Regions from separate parts of the Homo sapiens genome. Here all the other regions are linked to region 2. Evidence: promoter capture Hi-C in 16 types of primary human blood cells and fetal thymus (Javierre and others, 2016). All regions are on one chromosome and are shown on one strand. The core of a region is centred on a gene start or on the middle of the fragment in contact, and the rest is flanking DNA. Distances in the headings are between cores, read along the strand shown. Region 1 overlaps NMNAT2 (nicotinamide nucleotide adenylyltransferase 2). Region 2 holds the start of LAMC1 (laminin subunit gamma 1). Region 3 overlaps SMG7-AS1 (SMG7 antisense RNA 1). Region 4 overlaps NMNAT2 (nicotinamide nucleotide adenylyltransferase 2).

What was found. Contacts are between HindIII fragments. The CHiCAGO score rates a contact against its expected background, and 5 or more counts as called.
Region 1: a fragment that was not itself captured here is called in contact with the fragment with the promoter of LAMC1 in region 2 in 1 of 17 cell types (endothelial precursors); the score reaches 6.8 in endothelial precursors.
Region 3: a contact is called between a fragment that was not itself captured here and the fragment with the promoter of LAMC1 in region 2, in 3 of 17 cell types (total B cells, endothelial precursors and naive B cells). The highest score is 7.4, in total B cells.
Region 4: a contact is called between a fragment that was not itself captured here and the fragment with the promoter of LAMC1 in region 2, in 1 of 17 cell types (endothelial precursors). The highest score is 6.2, in endothelial precursors.

What each region holds. Positions count from the first base shown.
Region 1 is chr1:183,295,662-183,298,970 of GRCh38, reverse strand. All of the region lies in intron 1 of NMNAT2 (nicotinamide nucleotide adenylyltransferase 2), which reads left to right. Among named protein-coding and RNA genes, the nearest start is that of LAMC2, 110 kb to the right of the region's middle. The HindIII fragment of the contact is 9,865 bases long and covers 1-3,309 here.
Region 2 is chr1:183,022,150-183,025,127 of GRCh38, reverse strand. It overlaps LAMC1 (laminin subunit gamma 1), which reads right to left and starts at 1,708. Exons shown (of 28, transcript NM_002293.4): 1 at 994-1,708. The coding sequence starts at 1,411. RefSeq lists enhancers at 792-1,345, 1,901-2,455, 2,456-2,978 and silencers at 1,300-1,439, 1,460-1,529, 1,580-1,969, 2,000-2,389. The HindIII fragment of the contact is 7,676 bases long and covers 1-2,978 here.
Region 3 is chr1:183,466,102-183,468,991 of GRCh38, reverse strand. All of the region lies in intron 3 of SMG7-AS1 (SMG7 antisense RNA 1), which reads left to right. Among named protein-coding and RNA genes, the nearest start is that of SMG7-AS1, 4.4 kb to the left of the region's middle. The HindIII fragment of the contact is 3,386 bases long and covers 1-2,890 here.
Region 4 is chr1:183,326,386-183,329,645 of GRCh38, reverse strand. The region is part of intron 1 of NMNAT2 (nicotinamide nucleotide adenylyltransferase 2); the gene reads left to right. Among named protein-coding and RNA genes, the nearest start is that of NMNAT2, 90 kb to the left of the region's middle. The HindIII fragment of the contact is 3,248 bases long and covers 1-3,132 here.

The DNA.
Region 1 (3,309 bases), core at 595-3,094, 270 kb before region 2:
AGCTGCTATGAACTATTCTAGCTCCTATAACTTTCCATACACATTTTAGAATTCTGTTGATATTAACACTTTAACAAATCTTGTTGTGATTTTGACAAGAAATACATTAAATTTCATATCATTTTGGGGAGAATTAGCATCTTGACTGTGTTGCATCTTCCAATCCATAACATAGTATGTCTCTTGTTGTTGTTGTTGTTGTTCCTAACCACTAGACTATGCCATCCAACTCAATAGAAGCATGATCACCCAAATAAATTCAGGATTGTCAGCATCTTCTGCTACTTGTTGTGGCGCTGAATTCAAATATATGTTCCTGTGTTCACAGAGGCAACATAGATACAGTGCATATGGGAATAAAGGGTTGAAGGCATCCTTGAAAAGGACTCTCAGTTAAGATTTAAAATGCATAGGTCTCTACATTTATTTAGATCTTCTTTGATTTCTTTCATCAGCATCTTGTAGTTTTTAACATACAAGCCCTGTATATGTTTTATTATATTTATACCTAAGTATTTCATTGAATTGATTAACATTTGCTTTGTATTTTTATTTTGATTTTGTTTGTTGCTAGCATATGGAAATACAATTAATTTTCTTATGTTGATCTTGTAACTTATGACCTTGTTGAGCTCACTTATTAGTTGCTGGAGTTTCCTTGTAAATTTATTGGGATTTCTAGGTAGATCATCAAGTCATCTACAAATAGAGACAGGTTTTTTTATTTTCCTTTTTTTATCTGTATGCCTTTTATTTCCTTTTCTTGCCTTATGGTGTGCACTAGAACTTCTGGTTGAATAACAGCAATGAGAGCACACTTCCTTCCTTGTTCTTCATTTTAGGGAGAAAGCATTCAATCTTTCACCACTAAGTATGATGTTAGTTGCAGGTTTTTGCAGATGCTCTTTGTCAAGTCGAGGACGTTTCTTTCTATTCCTATTATACTGAGAGTTTTTGTCATGAATGAATGTTGAATTTTGTCAAACGCTTTTTCTGCATCAATTGATAGGATCATGAGATTTTTCTTTAGCTTGCTGGTGGATTACATTGAATGATTTTTCAAATACTGAAAAAACAGCCTTGTATCCCTGGAATATACACCACTTAGTCACAGTGTATAATTCTTTCTATATATAGCTGGATTCTATTTGCTAACATTTGTTAAGGATTTTTGAGTATTCAATCATAAAGGATATTGGCCTGTAGTTTCTTCTTTGTACTGTCTTTGCCTGGTTTTGATATCAGGGTAATACTGGCTTTATAAAATAAATTGAAAAGTGTTCTTTCCTAGGCCGGGCATGGTGGCTCACGCCTGTAATCCCAGCATTTTAGGAGGCCGAGGTGGGCAGATCACCTGAGGTCGGGAGTTCAAGATCAGCCTGACCACATGGAGAAACCTCGTCTCTACTAAAAATACAAAATTAGCCGGGGATGGTGGCACATCCCTGTAATTCCAGCTACTCGGGAGGCGGAGGCAGGAGAATCGCTTGAACCCGGGAGGCAGAGGTTGCGCTGAGCCGAGATCACGCCGTTGCACTCCAGCCTGGGCAACAAGAGCGAAACTCCGTCTCAAAAAAAAAAAAAAAAGGGTTCCTTCCTTTTCTACTTTCTAGAAGAGTTTATGTAGACTTGGTTTTAGTTCTTTATGTGGAATTCTCCAGTAAAACCACTTAGCGCTATGCACTTTTACTTTCGTAATTTGATTTGATCCTCACAACAACTTTGCAAAGAAGGCATTTTACAGAAACAGTTTCCAGGTCCCTTGGACTGCACTGGATACACAGTGAGATTAGTGAGGTGGCCGGGAAATAAGTCCAGAGCAGGAGGCTGTTGGGCAGGGAAGGCATGCTAGATGTGGGGTAGGGTAGAGCTGGGTTTGAATGAAGTGCTTGGGAAGTGAAGAGTTAGAAGGCACTATTTGGAGGACAGGGAGAGTAAAGAAGTTCTGGCTTATTGCAGCAGAGGGTCTGTGACTGCCAAGGGCCAGATAGAAATGACCCCGAAGAGGAGCGGAGTGTGAAGGTCCAAGAGAAACAGGGAGAGGCTGTGCAATTTCTTCAAATATCAGAATAGATTGTTGCAAGGCCTTTAATTTGGCCTCAGAATAAGATCTGAAAACAAGTGAAGTACTACAACTCTTTTAAAAAGCAAATATGGGGCTGGGTGCGGTGGCTCATGCCTGTAATCCCAGCACTTTGGGAGGCTGAGGTGGTCAGATCACCTGAGGTCAGGAGTTCAAGACCAGCCTGGCTAACATGGTGAAACCCCATCTCTACTAAAAAATAAAAAAATTAGCTGGGTATGGTGGTGCACGTCTGTAATCCCAGCTACCTATGAGGCTGAGGCACAAGAATCACTTGAACCCAGGAGGCGGAGGTTGCAGTGAGCCAAGATGATGCCACTGTACTCCAGCCTGGGCAACAGAGCTAGACTCCATCAAAAAAAAAAGCAAATGTGACACACTTATCAGAGTGACACACTTATTAAAATCCAAATAATGCCAAATGCTGGTAAGAATTTGGAGCAACAGAAAGTCTCATTCATTCCTGGTAGGAATATAAAATGGCACAACCACTTTGGAAGACAATTTGACAGCCTCTTAAAAAGCTAAACATAATCTTACCATATGATTCATATGGCTCCTTGTGTAGATTCCCTAATTTACGTCTTCACAAAAACCTGCACATGAATGTCATATCAGCTTTATTTATAATCACTAAAAACTGGAAGCAGCAAAGATGTTCTTTGGTAGATGAATGGATAAACTGAAGTACTTCCAGACAATAGACTATCATTTAGTGATTAAAAGAAATGAGCTGCCGGCCGGGCGCGGTGGCTCACGCCTGTAATCCCAGCACTTTGGGAGGCCGTGGCAGGCGGATCTCCTGAGGTCAGGAGTTTGAGACCAGTTTGGCTAACATAGTGAAACCCCATCTCTACTAAAAATACAAAAAATTAGCTGGGCATGGTGGTAGGCGCCTGTAATCCCAACTACTTGGGAGGCTGAGGCAGGAGAATCGCTTAAGCCCGGGAGGCGGAGGTTGCAGTGAGCTGAGATGGCGCCACTGCACTCCAGCTTAGGGGACAAGAGCGAGACTTCCTCTCAAAGAAAAAGAAAGAAATGAGCTATCGAGCCATGAAAAGACATGGAGGAACTTTAAATGCATACTGCTTAGTGAAAACAGCAAGTCCAAAGAGGGTACATACTGTATGATTCCAACCATATGGCATTTTGGAAACGTCAAATCTATAGAAAAAGTAAACAGAACCGTGGTTGCCAGGGGTTTGGGAAAAGAGGAGGCATGAATG
Region 2 (2,978 bases), core at 459-2,958:
TACTGGTAATAATCAAGCCTTCCAAGGCAATGGGGAGTGAAGTGTTAAGTCAAACGTGTTTCTCACACATAGATTCCTCTGTTAAACACAATAATGAAACTTTCTGCCTATTTACGTATCTCAATGATGAAGAAAACCTTAGCTAGACCGAACATTATTTTTGGTGCTTCCAGATACATATGTCCATCCTCAATCCACTGCCCTGCCATGAAGTTTTCTACACATCCCTTTCCTGATTTCTGAAACATCACTTACACGTGTTTCTACAGTTGCTTTGAATGAAAGCAAAAGGGAAGACAGTAAAGGAGAGCCTTTTTACCCAGGGACAAGGCTATGCCCAGCAATTACAGTGAGTGCACTTCCTTTTGTTCATTCTGCACCAGGATTAGCAGTCAAATCGCTTTGTGGTTCTTAATTAAGGCTGAGCAGCTATAAAGAACAATAACTTCAAAAGTGAATTTATGTTTTAATTACACATAGGCAATATAGGCAGCGAAGGCATTTGCTCCCCTCAAATTCCCCCTTAACTCAACAGAGCAATCACCCTCAGCCCTGGAAGGACATCTAAACATTTTAAAGGCGAAAGTGTTTAAGGCGGACCTTCTTGTTTCCGATCCAAGAATGCGCTGTGATGACCTTGCTAGCAAAGAGAAAAGTGGGGATGGGAGTTTCTGATTAACGCTTCAGAAAAAAAAGGGGGAAATCACAATCCTAACAGCCGAAATGCAGAATAATCAGAGAGCCAGAATCCCGTTAAGTCAGAAAGAACAGGAAAGCAGAGAGACTCGTGCGGAACATCCTGGCCCTCACGGGATGTTAAAAGCAGTATCTATTTAAGAAGTTGGAGAAAGGAGTTTCTGTGTGGCCCATGCCGGGGAACAGAGAGCAAACACGCGGCCGTCTGCGCCCGTGAGGCCGGCCACTGGGACGGAGCCGGTCCGGGAGCTGGGCTGCTGGCGAGCAGTAGCAGGGGACGGGGCTGTCACCGCTTACCCAGGTGCAGCGTGAGGTTGATGGAGCTGGGGTACTGCACCCCGGCCAGCATGGTCTGGCTTTGCCACCAGGTGGTGTCGGCCTGGTTGTTGTAGTCGGTCAGGAAGGCTGCCCCGTGCTGCAGGTGGGGCTGCCCGGCGTCGCACAGGTGACAGGACTTGGTGACCCCGGTCACCCCGGTCTGCACACAGTATTCCTCGGGCGGAGTCCCACACGTGTTGGTGGCCACCACAGTCACGTTGAAGGCGGCGTTGACGAACTCGGGCATGCAGCGCTGCGGCCGCCCGCCCTCGTCCGTGCACTCGTCCATGGCTGCCTGGGCACAGCCCGCCGCGGCGGCCGCCGCCAGCACGGCCAGCACGGGCCAGAGCCGCCCCCGGGGCCGCAGGGCCGGCGCGGCCCGATGGCTCCCTCTCATCCCGCCGCCCGCACGCTGGGTCACGGCGAAGGCAAGGGCACCGGCGCGTTCCTCTCGCCTAGCGGCGTCCCCCGGAGGCCGCTTCGCTGCTTGAGCCTGGGGGCCCAGGGGCCTGACTCCGGCGCGGGCGGTGGCGGCGGCTCGCGCCGGAGAGACTGACGGGTGGGCGCCCCTAGCGAGGACCGCGCTGCTCGCCGACCACTGCCCCCGCGCGCCGCCTCCGCGCTTCCCTCACCTACCCCGGGAGCAGCCTGCACTCCGCGCCGACCCCCGACTTCCGAGCGCGTGCCCGAGTGCGCGCCCCCGGGGAGGAAGGAGCAGGGGGTGGGGTCGGCAGGGTGGGGTGGGGTCTGGGCGAGGAGAAAGCCCAACCCTGTCTCCTCTCAGCAACTCCCGCGGCCCCTGGGGCAACTCCCCGGCCCACCGCGCCCCATGGACTGCGCGTCCGCCCCGGCGACTCCAGGAGGCGGCGGGGGCGGGAGCAGCGGCGTCTCGCGCTCGGGCCCGCGGCGCGCGACCCGGGGGGAGGGGCGCGCGAGGTGGGCGGGGAGCCGGGGGAGGGGGTTGGGGGAGGGGAGGGGAGAGGAGGGGAGAGGAGGGGAGGGGAGAGGAGAGGAGGGGAGGGGAGGGCGGCTGGGTGGTGCATGCCGGGAGGGAAGGGCGGCCTCGCAGACCCGCTCCCCGCGCGGGAGTCGCTGGGGTCCTTGGGCTCCGCGGCCTGGGAGACTCCGGATTGCGGGAGGAGTCGGGGGAGGGCGCCTTAGAGGGGCGATGCCGGGTCAGGAGGTCGCTCGGGGTCGTCCCTGGGGCCTCGCGCCAATTTGGGCTGCGGCAAGAGGGTCCCCGCCCGGCCAGGTGTGGGTCCGAACCGGGAGCGCCCGCTGCTGCCCGGGGCCCCGCTCCAGCCCCTCCCGAACAGAGGTCCCGGGGCGTTCATGGGGCCGACACGGTCCCTGGAGAATCAGAAGGGCCTGGTCGCAGCAGCCAGATGAGTTTCGTGAAGCGATTTCCTGCCGCTGATTTAAAGTGTAACCAGTCGTTTTACCGGGGCAAGGAAGGAAGTGAAAAGGCTGGGAATGGAATGAATTTTTCCCTTGGGTACGCACGACCCACTGCGAAATTCTTCCACTGTGTTGTTTGTGTTCCTCGGCTTGCCTTTAAAAGACTCGAAATTATGTGGATTCTGACATCCTCCTTTTCGGGCCTGCTGAGTCACGGAATATTCTCAGTGCCAGAATGACTCAGTTCACAGAACCTGAGCCAGAAGATCATGAGTTTTAGTCCCGGAGCAGAACCTGGGCGCTTACCCAGTGCTGGATACGGCAAGCAGAGACCAGGGCAGGGAGGCAGCAGCTTGAAACCCTTGGCGTCCCCAAGCAGAGAGGATGCACATAGTGAATGACACGGATTTGTTTTGTTCTAGCTTTTCAGGAATTTAATGATAAAGTGCGGATAATAAGTACACCGCAAAAACAAAACAAAAAAACACATGCATAATTTCGGACCCAGTTGTCCCATTAAGATAGGCGTAATGGGAATCTGAAACAAGGAAATAAGTATATGTTAG
Region 3 (2,890 bases), core at 144-2,643, 440 kb before region 2:
CTCTGTCACCCAGGCTGGAGTGCAGTGGCACAATTTCAGCTCACTGCAACCTCTGCCTCCTGGGTTCAGGCAATTCTTGTGCTTCAGCCTCCCAAGTAGCTGGGACTACAGGTGTGTGCCACCACGCCCAGCTAATTTTTGTATTTTCAGTAGAGACAAGGTTCACCATGTTGGCCAGGCTGGTCTCAAACTCCTGACCTCAAGTGATCCACCTGCCTTGGCATCTCAAAGTTCTGGGATTACAGGTGTGAGCCACCTTGCCCAGTCCCTTTTGCTCTTTTATATCAAGCTAAAAAGAGTAAAATAGAACTACTACAGCATAACATTATTTTTTAAAATAATACTCTATCTAGTCTTTTTTTTTTTTAAATAGAGATGCAGCCTAACTGTATTGCCCAGGCTATCTATCTCTAACTCCTAGCCACAAGCAGTCCTCCCGCCTCAGCCTCACAAGTAGCTGGGATTTTAGGTGTGAATCACTGTACCCAGCTCTCAATCTAGTCTTTGTCTATAATACTCATAGGTCTGAACTCACATTCAAATCTATTGGCATCCAGTGCTAGAAGATAGATTTCTTTATTCATGACTGATTACAGAAAAGAACACAATATTAGGACATTGTGAGTCCAATGCTAGAGATTTAAAACTTTTCAAAAACCTTTTATCACATAAAACAGGCTAATATAACCACATTTCTGTCCAAGTAGATGGAATGGCCTCTTTTCAATCAAACACAGTACTTGCTGAGAAGCTACTCTTAACATTCTTACCAAATTTACCCAGAGCTTTGGTAACCTGACGATTAATACATAGCAGGCCTCCTCCCTTTTTATAATAATAGACAGCCTGTGCCATGACATCGTAACAAGCCCTAATTTATTTTAATATTTATCCTATATATTCTGAATGTTTATAAATCCTGTGCACAATTAGGAACTTGGTAAATCATTCTCATCAAAGCAGAAACACATTTATTATCAGTTGCATACTCAGTACACAATATGTGTGAAGCTAGCCATTCATTCCTCTTCAGTACCACACCTCAGACCATAGAGTTAAGTGATTCAATCAAATGAGTAATTCATTCTCTTCAAATAGTGAGTCAGATACAAATTGACATTTAAATTCAGGTCTCCTGTTGCTCAAGATTTCTTAGATCAAGGGTCAGTAGCCTTTTTCAAACAGTTTGCCAAGTGTATATTTATTCATTCACTCCAAAGAGGGAGTCTTTTAGCCTGAAGAATAGTCGGGAATCATTGCAGTCCAAGATTGAAGAAAAGAAACTTCTGATTTGGGAGGCACTGAGGTGACAGTTGGGGAATAATATTCAGAGCTTTCTCTCCCCCTTCACTTCTCCATTCTCCTAATATTTACTAAGGGAAATCTTACTATCTTCAAGGTTTCCCCCAACTCCCAATAAGCAAATACCTCTGAGAAATTACCACACCTAAAATTCTTATCTGCTGATTTAATGGACACAATCTGGAGAAGACAAGAAGAGATGCTCATAGGAAAGATTGAAAAGTATTGAAAAACAAAAACAAAAACCGTAGCCTCTCTTATTTTATTGGCAGAAGGCCTTAGTGTTCATGCATCTCTTTACTACCCGAAGCACAGTACTTACTGAAATCATCTTGTGGGTCCCTAATCTAACAGCAACATATTTCATGTCAAAGTCTGTTCAGTTACCTAGAAGTTGCCATATTTTTCTTAAAACACCCAACTAAAATAACATAATCTTTTAATATTTTCTAGTTTCTACTTTCCTAACTTTTATCAGGTAGATAGTAATTTGGAGCACTAAGAATGTGATACTGATATTCATTGTCATAAATCTGTTCTTCAAAACCATGGGAAACATGTACATGCATGTACACATGCACACACTGATATGGTTTGGCCCTATGTCCCTGCCCAAATCTGATCTCTATTTATAATCCCCACATGTTGACGGAGGGACCTGTAATCCCCACGTGTCCAGGGAGGGAGGTGATTGGATCATGGGGGTGGTTTCCCCCATGCTGTTCTCATGAGTGAGTGAGTTCTCACAAGATCTTATGTTTTTGTAAGTGTTTGGAACTTCCTCCTTTGTTTGTCTCTCCCTGCTGCCTTGTAAAGAAGGTCCATTTTTCCCCTTCCACCATGATTGTAAGTTTCCTGAGGCCTCCCCAACTATATGGAACTGTGAGTCAATTAAACCCCCTTTGCTTATAAATTACCCAGTCTCGGGTAGTATCTTTATAGCAGTGTGAAAACGAAATAACACACACCTTCCTCTTTTCCCTGACATTATTATTGTACCAATTCAATTGGCAATTCAAGTTAAAATGTGATAAAGATGAAAAGCAAAGAAACTTAGGACTTAGGTCCATCACTTCAAGGCATACTAAGAATATGCATCCAAGCACTTTTTTGCTTTGCTTAACAATCCCAGGGTCTTTTCTATTCTCAGAAAACTTTTACATATCAAAAACCTGGATAGTTTGTTCCATATATGTAAAAGTTCTTTCTTTTCTTTTTCTTTTTCTTTCTTTCTTTCTTTTTTTTTTTTTTTTTTTTTGAGACAGGGTCTTGCTCTGTTGCCCAGGCTGGAGTATAGTGGCATGATCACAGCTCACTGCAGCCTCAACCCCCGGGCTCAAGTAATTCCCCTGCCTCAGCCTCTCGAGTAGCTAGGACTACAGGCTTCCCTCACGATGCCCAGCTAATTTTTTTATTTTTTGTAGAAACAGCAGTCTCCCTATGTTGCCCAGGCTGGTCTCAAACTCCTGGGCTCAAGAACCTCCAGCCTTGGCTTCCCAAAGTAATGGGATTACAGGTGAGCCACCTCACCTGGTCATATTTGTTAAAATTCTTAATATTAGCCTGGCACAGTGGCAGGTGCCTATAA
Region 4 (3,260 bases), core at 259-2,758, 300 kb before region 2:
GTTGGGAAGGAGGACAGCTCAGTGTGGCTCTGGCTGCAGCCCTCCATGAGGGGAACAGTGAGGGCTTGAATAATGATCTTAGCAGGGTCATCCCCATGGCAGGCTCAGTAAGAAATTGCTAAAAGCTATTCTTATCCAGCCGAAGATTATCCAAGTAGGTCTCCTCCCACACAGGTTTTAACAGATAGTTTCCAACCTCTCCTGAATGACTTGGAGGAATGTACACTTTAATGGGTTAAAATGGACCATTTTACCTAATTAAGAGTCCAGATCAGGGAATTTAAAATATCCTATTTCCTCAATGCTAAGATATATGACTTTCATGCTGAGCATTTCTGAAACTGCAATAAATTTTATAATATTTATCTTCAATTTAGTGTTTCTTCACACACACATACACACACACACAATTAAAATGGATATTTGTTTGAATTAAAGGAATACAACAACATGATTGTTACTCTAGTTTATGCTGGTAGGGGGATAGAAATCATGAACCCCCATAGGCAGAAATGGGCTTCAGGGAGGCTAGGAACCCTGATTTGGAAAGCTGTAGGGAACCCTTGCAGTATGTCTGTCTCTCATCTTTGCCTCTTTCTCTGTAGCTGATACATTGTTTGCTATTTCTACCGACTTGCTACCTCTGCTCCTCTACCTCTGCTACCTCTGCTACCTCTGCACAGCACAAAAACAGACAACCACAGCCCCACAGAAGGACCAAATCTCTCTGTCTCCATGTTTCTCTGTCTCTCTCTCCTGCAATCCAAATACCGGGGGAAGGATTTCTATTGGCTTTTATAGTCCAATCAACTGATGTTGGAATGGGAAGTAGGGTCACATTTTACAAGGTGGCTACCAACTATTACTGTGAGTCCACAGGTCAGGCTAGGAGACTCTGTAGATTGCGGCAGACATTCCACAAGATCTTCCTCACAGGAGGCAAAGGTTTGTTGGTGCAGAACATCATTCCCATGGCACTAGGTGTTGAGGTTGGGAGGACAGTAGGCAGGGCTCCTAGAGACAAGTCACCTAACTAGAGCCAGGAGGATTGCTAGCTCCTGACACCAAGCCTGATGGTCAGATCAGCAGTGACCATGCTGACTCATGGGGCTGGCTAGGGCTTTGTCCTGATCACCATCTCCCTCAGAAAGGACTAGAGAGCAGAGGTTTCATTGCCCAAGGGCATTGCCCAAGGAGGAATGGTAGGGAGGCAGAAATGGCAAATTCTAGAAGAGCATTCTCCTAGAAGGGCTTATTAACATGTAGCACCAGAGAGGCTCTTTTCAAAATGCTCTCTGAGGGTCCGTATTTTGCTGATCTCAGCTTCAGACTGTCCAAAACAATCATAGCCCCTCCAAGGCTTCTGGAGGTGAGAGGGGGTAGAGCAGATGGGTGGGGAGGAAGCCAGGGAGCCAGGAAGCCAGGGTCCTGGCCTGCGGCATCTGATCCCTCTCCCTTTTCAGTTTTCAGGGACCTGCCAACTCAGTGTGTTTGAGTGGCTGGAGTCCAGCTGCAATACTGTGTGGTCCGAGACCAGGTGATGGTTCCCTCCCATGACCCCTATTCTCCCCTCTCTGGCCCAAGTCCTGGAGGGAACAACCTCTCCGCCTGCCCTAGAAGCTGTGGGGGCAGCTGACGTTGATGAGCCACCGACCTGGAGATTTGGCAGAAGACCTGCTTGCTAAGTTGGAGAGAGGATGTCAAGTGAGAAAGAGCAGTGTTCAGTGCCAGCTCCTCTGAAACCCAGGGGAGCCAGGGAGTAGACAGGGCCAGCGAGGACAGGGAGGGAAAGCAGTAGCTTCCCAGGGCAAAAGGGGAAAAACACACATACACACACAAAAAACAGCAGCTAAGAAGACTATTTTTATTTCTAATTCTCCAGGCATCACTCCCAAGAGATCTGTCCAAGTGACTCAGAAATGTCCTTGTGGCACTGAGAAATTGCCTAGTTTGTGAGTACAGAGAACTCAGTGCTGGCGAATAAACATCCCTGCTCTTCTTCAACCACTCACCCCTACCCACCACTCCGTTGGAAACGATTCTGGGACATACTGATGTCTGTGCAGTGTACAGATGTCTGAATTTGAGAAGAGTTGCTGGCAAACAGTAAGAAGCACTGGTATACATGAGCTGTCGAGGTAGCAAGAAGGAATGCCTGCAAATATGGCCCTTTTGGCGTACTGGATTGGTGATGCTTGAGCCAACACATCTTCATAATTCGCTGTGTGAACTGAGAGAAGTTATCTTAAATGTCTGTCTCCACTTTGTTATTTAAAAAATGTATAATTAGGGCCAGGCACAGTGGCTCATGCCTGTAATCCCAGCACTTTGGAAGGCCGAGGCAGGCGGATCACTTGAGGTCAGGAGTTCGAGACCAGCCTGGCCAACATTTAGTAGAGACCAGCTGTCTCTACTAAAAATACAAAAATTAGCCAAGTATGGTGGCACATGCCTGTAATCCCAGTTACTTGGGAGGCTGAGGCAGGAGAATTGCTTGAGCCTGGGAGGCGGAGGTTGCAGTGAGCCGAGATTGCACCACCTCACTCCAGCCTGGGTGACAGAGTGAGCTCTGTCTCAAAAATAAATACATACATACATACATACATACATACATACATAAAATATAATTATGAATACTGCTGAGAAAGGGTAATGGGGATAGCTATGTCCACTCTTTCCCTCTCTGTTGTGTGACTGGAGATTAATCCTATTCATTAATTTTTCTTGGTCCTCTCCCAGTCCTCTTCCATCCACCTGGTTATCTAGTCCCTTCTTTAACCCTCAGAGTCAAAGTTTCAGCCCACCTGGTGATTCTTCCTCCAATGTATATTTTAAATCCATCCTCTTCTTTCCATCTTTCTAATGGAGTCTCACCTTGTCCATTGCAATCTTGTTCTGCGAGCTTCTCAATCCATTCTCCTCACAGCCCAGGGTGCTTTTCATGAGTAAGATCATGTCACTCTCTTTCTTAAATCCCCCAATGACTTCTTTTTCCCTTAGAGCACACCCAACATGATATGGTGCCTATTGACCACTCTAGTGATATAGATTCTTCAAGTTCTAGAACACATCAAATTTTCCCTGTCCTGGAGCCTTTGCACATGCTGCTGTCTCCATATGGAAAGCTAAGCTTCTAAGTCTGCCCCTGGATCCTCCTCTTCATTCATGCCTCAAAATGAAATTATTTCTTCCTCACAACATATTTTCCCTTGCAACCATATCTAAATAGTTCTCTTCCCCTGTCTTTTTTTTTTTTTTTT